2 separate regions of the Homo sapiens genome follow, and region 1 is linked to region 2. The links are contacts of gene promoters, found by promoter capture Hi-C in blood cells and fetal thymus (Javierre and others, 2016). All regions are on one chromosome and are shown on one strand. The core of a region is centred on a gene start or on the middle of the fragment in contact, and the rest is flanking DNA. Distances in the headings are between cores, read along the strand shown.

Region 1 (4,203 bases), core at 1,704-4,203, 190 kb after region 2:
GCTGGCCTAAATTTTTATTTATTTATTTTTTTCTTGACACAGAGTCTCGGCCTGTCACCCAGGCTGGAGTGCAGTGGCACGATGTTGGCTCACTGCAACCTCCGCCTCCTGGGTTCATGTGATTCTCCTGCCTCAGCCTCCCAAGTAGCTTGGACTACAGGCATGCACCACCACACCCAGCTAATTTTTCTATTTTCAGTAGAGACAGGGTTTCACCATGTTAGCCAGGCTGGTCTCAAACTCCTGACCTCAAATGATCTGCCCGCCTTGGCCTCCCAAAGTGATGGGATTACAGGCATGAGCCACCCCACCCAGCCAAGCTGGTCTAAAATTTAAAACTGGCAACTAATTGTTTTTACTGGAGGGTTTGCAGCAATAAAATTTTTCATAAAAGTAAATAAAGTGCAAGATATTGTCATCTGTTGTTGGTGCAAATTAAACTAAACTTAGCATAAATTTTTTTGCAATAGTAAATGTGTTCAAAATTTTAAAAAACAAATTTTCTGCCCTCCTACATGCAATGTATATTTAAGTTCTTGCAGAAAGTAAACAATTCACATTCTATGAAAATACTAAAAACAGTAATAGTATTACGAATAGACTGTCTCATTAGAGGCTAGAGGCCAGGTGCGATGGCACATCCCTGTAATCCCAGCAGTCTGGGAGGCTGAGGCAGGTGGATCCTTGAGGCCAGGAGTTCGAGACCAGCCTGGACAACATGGTGAAACCCTATCTCTACTAAAAATAAAAAATTGGCTGGGCATGGGGGCTCACACCTAGGGTCCCAGCTACTCAGGAGGCTGAGGCACAAGAATCACTTGAACCCAGGAGGCGGAGGTTGCAGTGAGCCGAGATCATGCCACTGCACTCTAGCCTGGGCAACAAAGTAAACTCTGTCTCAAAAAAAAAAAAAAAAACCAGGAAAGAATATCTTGTGCCTTGAATTTAATATATCTGAAAAGGCTAATGTCCCAGCCTGGGATGTGAGGTGTGCATGGGTGTGTATGTATTTGTGTCTTCTTGAATAAGAAATATTGAAATATATGTCAGAAAAAAGATTATGACAGTAGAATATAGGTAAATTAAGATTTGAATGTATCACAAACATTCAAATTCAAGGGATGACAGTTCTGAGAAGAAAGTTTCCAAACCCAGAAAGACTATCCAGCTGGAAGATTACTCAATTATGTCATACAGTATCCTAAGTAAGGAAAAGCAGAATTTTAGGCCCATGGGGAAGGGAATATATGGAATCCCTGAGATTTACAATGAAAAAATGTGCCTGGGGTATAAATTTATCTCAAAAAAAGTATATACTCTGAGGGTTAGGTAAGTAGTCAAGAGAAAATAAATTATAAAGAGAGTAATGGCAGGTTGATTAGTGTATCTCTACCTGGTATGAACAACTATTACAGGTTGAGTATCCCTAATCCAAAAATCTGAAATCTGAAACTTTTTAAGCATCAAAGGAAATACTCATTAGAGCATTTCAGATTTTGCATTTTTGCATTAGGGATGCTGAACCAGTAAGTATTAATGCAAATATTCCAAAATCTGAAAAAACCCAAAATCGGAAACATTATGGACCTAAGTATTTCAGATAAGGGATACTCAACTTGCACTCAATAAGGAAGAGAAAGGAGCGTATGTGTGAGAAGGAAGTTGGCAAATGGGGCTTGAAAAAGTTATTTCTGCCAGAAAGAAACAAAATGTTCTACATCATTAAAAGGGATAAGAAATCTAAAAGGGGTAATTATAAGAAAAGCTGTCCATGAAAATAAACAGAATTATGCCTATAATTTTTAGTAGATTAGCTACGATGGGAATAACCAAGCACAGAAGAGGTAACCAGGGACAGATACTAATACTTGGAGGCTTGCACAATAATTAGGTGAGATATACATATCCCAAACAGGCCTTCGTCACAAGGCAAGAAAGAATTTCTTAGAATTGTTTCATTTGTAAGGATAAAAATAATCTATATTATGGCAAGGCGCAGCAGCTTACACCTGTAATCCCACCACTCTGGGAGGCCGAGGTGGGTGAATCACTTGAGGTCAGGTGTTCGAGACCAGCCCGGCCAACAGGGTGAAACCCTGTCTCTACTAAAAATTCAATCCAGCCTGGGCAAGAGTGAGACTCCATCTCAAAAAAAAAAAATAATCTATATTATATCCTGTAGTAAAGAATAGGAAAAACAACCACATGTACTTGTGGGATTTATATGGGTTTTTTAAATACACTTCTCTGTGACACTCGCAACATTTTCATCCTTGAATTTCTGATTTCCTTTCCTTTTTTTCTCCTATTCTCTCATACCTTGATGGAGTCACTGAAAGCCAAGATACTCCTCAATCCTGCTTAAAGACGCTAAGATCTATAGAGATTACTGATCTCCAATGAGGCATTTTTTCCTAGATAATATGTAACTGCTGGACAGTAAAAATTAACATCATATTCAACAGGGAAGAAACCTGCAAAAATAATTTCCTATTAAAGGCAGGATAAAGCAAAAAGAAACCGACCTCTCTCCTACAGAAGTACGGTAAAATCTAAACTGGTCACACTAACAAATACAGCATTTATACTCTGAATGATATAAATTTGGCTTTACGATGAAATTTATCTTTCCAAAAATCTACATTTTTAAATAGGTTTTACACAGGTAATATAAAATCAGTTTGCATTCATTCAGCATACATACTGCCAAATGGTTTAGATATCTGAGTATCTTTTGTGAAGTGAGAGTTTAGGGCTTTTCCCCACCTTTTGAAACTGGGTTGTCTGTCTTTTTTTTATTGATTTGTAAGCGTTCTGACATATGTTCTGGATATGAGTCCTTTGTCAAATATAACAAGTATTATAAATATCTCTGTCCAGAACCCTGAATTTTGACTGTCTTATGTTCTTTCTTTGATAACACATAGTATTTTCTATGGGTAGATAACTGTTGAGTCTCATAAAAATGTGCAACTTCTACATATTAAAATAATCAAAATAAGAAATGGCAAAGAAATATATTTACCACAAAAATGACTAGAAGAAACATTCATGTTTTACTTATTTAAAAGGTCTGACTCAAAATGAAAAGGTGGGGGAAAAGTAAACAGCAAGGACCCAACACATCAATAGTTAAAAGACAGGACCATATGTTTTACAGAAAAGAAAATAGAAATAATTCACAAGGGCAAAAAATGCTCAGTGTCACTGTTAATCAGGTTAACATAAAGTAAATAATTTTAAAGTAATTCCTGATGCAGCCAAGAATTAAGTGAAACTGATGCTTTGATATATTGACAACTCAGATATGCTGATAGTAATATAAGTGGATCAGCTTTATTTTTTAGTCAACTGGGCAAATTTAACAAGTTACAAAAATATCCAAGTCCATTGACCCAATAAGTGATCCCACTTCTAAGAATCTATTCTAAAGGAAAAATATATTGAAACAGATTTATCAGTAAAGATTATATATGCATACACATATATATTATATATAACTCTTCTAATGTGACCAATCTAAAGGTAAGAAAATGATTGAATTGTAGAATCTAAAGGAAAAAAATGCAGTAATTTAACCTAATAGTTTTGAAGCTATATAAACAACAAAAAATTTATGCCACATTATGAAAAGATATAAATCTTTTTAACGTCAAAATATGCATATAAAGTATAAAATACTGAAAAATATTAACAATTGTTTAGGATGGTATGATTATGGGAAATTTTGTCATTTTACAAAGTTTCTAATGTTACTATATTACCTAATTTAAAAAATTTTTTTTCAAAGGGACAAATTACATTGTATGACTGTCAACTAAGCAAATGATAACATTAAGGAAAGTTTTATGTTCCTGACTTACTAGAGAGGATGAGCGGAAAAAACAAAGAAAATGTATAATGTTGGGAACTTAAAATATCAATCATAGATCTGCTTACATGAATTATAATAAAATCATGAAGCATTTGAACAAATCGACTTTTACCATAATTATTCAATTGTCTTAATTATTCAAAACATATCACAGTTTAGGACCTAATATACTTAAGTTACTCTGGTTTTAAAATTCCATGAGCAATACAGCCATACGGTAGATTTATTTATTTATTTATTTATTTATTTTTTGAGACGGAGTCTCGCTCTGTTGCCCAGGCTGGAGTGCAGTGGCGTGATCTCGGCTCACTGCAAGCTCCACCTCCCAG
Region 2 (4,258 bases), core at 1,624-4,123:
TGCCACTATGATGATAAATACAGCAGTGAAGGGAAAAGGAGGAGAAGGTGGAGGGGCAGAAGAAGGAATTGGGATGAAAAAATAATGTATTTAGTTTGAACATGTGGGCTTAAAATGCCTCTTGATCATTGAAAACATCCTCACAGCACTAAAGACAAAAAGACAGATTTGTAGACTTGGAATCATCAACATATAAGGAAGGAGTGAAGTCAAGGGGGAATGAATGACCTCACCCAGAAAGGACAAGAACAAAGAGAGGTGAGGAAAGGACAGAGGACGAGGAACAAGGACAGAGCTCTAGAGGGCGCTCAACTTCAAAAGAAAGGTCAGTGAAGGATCCATTGAAATGAAATGCTGTGGCCCTCCCTCTGTGACCTTTTCCCCTAGGCATCTAGTACAGTGCCCGGCACTGGGTAGGTACTCAAACTCCAGTTGAGTAAATAAAAGGAGAGAGAAAAGCAAGGTAGCTTTAAAGTAAGGAAGGAACATGTTTCCAAAAACATAATGATCAATAATATTTAATATTTAATTAGAATTTATTAATATTTGAAATATATAATGTTGCTAGGAGGTTACTATTTTTTAATATCTTTTCATGAGAGATTCTAAAAATAAATACTTGTTTCTAATTCTTACTCATGCTATACAAGAATTTAGATTACACACATTAAGTTTTGTTTTTTATTTTTTATTTATTTATTTTTTTGTGGAGACAGAGTCTCGCTCTGTCACCCAGGCTGGAGTGTAGTGGCCTGATCTCGGCTCACTGCAACCTCCACCACACGGTTCAGGCGATTCTCCTGCCTCAGCCTCCTGAGTAGTTGAGATTACAGGAGCCCACCACCATGCCTGGTAAATTTTTGTATTTTTAGTAGAGAGGGCGTTTCATCATGTTGGCCAGGGTAGTCTCGAACTCCTGACCTCAAGTAATCCACTTGCCTCAGCCTCCCAAAGTGCTGGGATTACAGGCATGAGCCACTGCATCTGGCCAAACATACATTAAGTTTAATTTCAATGACAGCTACAATTTCCAATTTACTTTTAGATGGTTAGTTAACTCTTTTCCTACTAAATGAAAATATTCAATATGCCACATATGAAAAAAATAAAATTCTCCCACCCACAAAAAAATCCTCCAGGGGCACAAAAAAAATCATTTGTTCCCTCATTTTTAAATATTTCTGCATGATGAGACAATATAAAGGCACAATATAGGTTAAAATAAATCACTCTGTGGTTTCTCAAAAAAAGTGAAAACAGATCCACCATATGATCCAGCAATCCCACTTCTGGGAATACATCCAAAAGAAAGGAAATAAGTACCTTGAAGAGATATCTGTACTCCCCTGTTTATTGCAGCACTATTCACAATAGCCAAGATATGGAAGCAATAATATTTCTTCTTGAGGAATAAAATTTTTAAATGTGGTATTTATATACAATGGAATATTATTCAGCCATGAAAAAGAATAAAACTCTATCATTTGCAGCAACATGGATGGAACTGGAGGATATTATGTTAAGCAAAATAAGCCAGGCACAGAAAGACAAATATCACATATCCTCTGTCATATGTGGGAGCTAAAAAAGTTGATCTCATGAAGGTAGAGAGGGAGAATGGTGGTTACCAGAGGTTAGGAAGGGGAAGAGGAAGAAGGGGGTGAAGGTAGGCTGGTTAATGGGTACAAACATACAGTCAGATAGAAGGAACAGGTTCTAGTATTTGATAACACGGTAGTATGACAATAGATAATGATAATTTATTTTTTATTTATAATAAACGATATAGATATAAACGATAAAATAAACGATATAGATAATGATAATTTATTGTATCTCAAAATAGCTAGCAGATTTGGAATGTTCCCAACACAAAGAAATGGTAAATGTTTGAGGTGATATATATGCTAATTACACATCGTATGCATATACCAAAATATCACATGTACCCCATAAATATGTGCAGTTATTACATATCACATAAAAAATAAAAAATACATTTAAAAAAATCAAAACTGAAATCACTCTGAGTTTACATTTTGTAGTAAAGGCCAGCATGGAGCAACAGCTGAGTAAAAGGGGATACTTCATGGGCACAGGTGTTGGTAATCCCACAAGAAAACCTGTGTTTCCTCATTTACTTTCTAACAAGACTTCAGCTTCCAATTAATGTTTTTCACCAGTTTTCTTTTCTTCAAAACAGCTAATTGTTAACCAGGGACCTGAGACACTCTCTTGCCTATAAACAAAACAACTAGAAGGATACCTTTTTCTGTTCAGACAAATTTTAGCACTAAAAACATAACCCTCAAACCTCAGAGGGATAGCTCAGTGCAAACTGTTCATGTCTAAAGCATAAATTGACCATAAACAATATATTGAATAGGTGCACTGTATACAAACCCCGTGAAAAAAATAAAACCAACTACTACCAAAGGAAGTGACAAAGACCTACAAACCAAGAAGAAATGTACCTTTATGCTACTATCATTGGTCATTTAATAGGCATGCTAACAGAGTAAAAAATAGACATTTCAAACAACAAAAAAGAAAATGTCACATCTCCCATTTCCAACTAACTCCCCCAAATTTATTTTTTAGCAAAAGGGGAATAATAAAGAATATTTGTGAAACCTTAGTCACCAAGATGAAAACAGCAAAACAAAATAGGGATCTGGAGAAAAGAAACAGATCGTTCCAACCAGCCCACAGCTAAATTTCCACTTCATCTCACTAACCATTGAATGCTACCCATCTACTCACCTCAACCCAGACTTAATCCTCTCCCCCAAAAGGAAGATTTCTCAGCAGTGCAGGAAGATCAAACAGGTATCCATTCCGTGACCATGCCAAGGAGAAAAGCAAGGCTACTCTGAAAGCTTGAGGGATGATACAGAAAACAAACTGGGTCTCTAGGGGGCATTCTCAAAAACCTGAGATCAACTCCTGGAAAAACACTCTTGACCACTTACCACCACCGGAAGCTGCTAGATGGCAATCAGAATCAGCATCTCATCAGAAGAAGAGGAAGACCTTACAAGAAAGCAGCTTCACTGTCAGTGAGGAATTGAGGGAGAAAAGCACTCCTTGGAAAAATGCTGAAAGCCCTGAAGAGCCTCTCCTCCCCTAGTTGCCTGCTCCTGCTGACAGGACAGAACTGGTTAATCTTGGGGAAACAAAAGGAAACTCCCAAGAGGCTGGCTTCTGAGGATGGCTTCCTCTGTGGGAATCAAGAATTCAGGAGGATGAAAATGAACAATGGAAGGGGACACCGGCTACCAGGCCTACTTACCAAACTTTTACCAGCCCTTGACTGAGGAAGATAAGCAAATCTGTTTGCAGTTCCCACCTGCTTTTGCAGAGATGAAAGAATCAGCAGTGGGTTTTTGTCACTTTTTTTTTTTTTTTTTTTTTTTTTTTACAGGGGAAGTTCAGCTCTCTTATGGATGAAAGCTAAGCATACTCAAGTGACATTTAGTAGGCAAAGCAATGACACTTCTTTCCCAACATCCTTAATTTCAGCACAGAGGATGCAAACATTAACCCTGATGGTACCAAAGAACAAATGCACATAGGAAATGGATTTACATCTTTTAGTTTGGAATTGCTTTTAAGGGGATTCTGGTTGTTAAAGCGGGATTAGATGAAAATAAAATATTTTGGTGCATATCTATTTTTAAAAGGAAAAATATGGCTTCTTTTAAATATGCCTAAAGCCATCTAGGAATTTTCCAGAAGTTGCATCAGATTTGCCAGTTAAGTACTGAAATCAAATAGATTTTAATCATGTCTCTATAACCAGAGCAAGCTAATCCCCTGCGCACCATCAACTCCACTCTCCTGGAACATCCTCACGCTGGGCCCTCAGGTTTTCACAGAAACAAGGGCCTTTTCCTACCAAGGTTCCACAGTAACAAGAAACTACAGATTTCTGGAAATAAGAGAGATGGCTTTCTTTCTTACATGATAAAAGAGGACCAAGAACAGCTTAGAGCAGGAAGCAATCATCTCTTTAAAATATTTAAAATAAAAAACACTTTTAAGTGAAAAACATTTTTAAGTATCACCTCTATACCATTTTTAAACCTATCATATGGGGCAAATATAAGTTTGGTAATTCCCTTTGTTAAAGAAGATATAAGGAAATCAGGGCCTTTTCCTTTTCCTATACTGTTAGTGGGAATATAAATTGGTAAAATATTTTTTAAAGGAAACTGAGTATAGTAGTGCCTATCAAGTATTGAAATGTGTATGTGTT

Evidence for each region. Contacts are between HindIII fragments. The CHiCAGO score rates a contact against its expected background, and 5 or more counts as called.
Region 1: a fragment that was not itself captured here is called in contact with the fragment with the promoter of ATP8B4 in region 2 in 2 of 17 cell types (M2 macrophages and M1 macrophages); the score reaches 9.4 in M2 macrophages.

The regions. Positions count from the first base shown.
Region 1 is chr15:50,310,076-50,314,278 of GRCh38, forward strand. The region is part of intron 1 of GABPB1 (GA binding protein transcription factor subunit beta 1); the gene reads right to left. Among named protein-coding and RNA genes, the nearest start is that of GABPB1-AS1, 42 kb to the right of the region's middle. The HindIII fragment of the contact is 6,518 bases long and covers 1-4,203 here.
Region 2 is chr15:50,116,360-50,120,617 of GRCh38, forward strand. It overlaps ATP8B4 (ATPase phospholipid transporting 8B4 (putative)), which reads right to left and starts at 2,874. Exons shown (of 28, transcript NM_024837.4): 1 at 2,764-2,874. RefSeq lists an enhancer at 78-591. The HindIII fragment of the contact is 5,193 bases long and covers 1-2,877 here.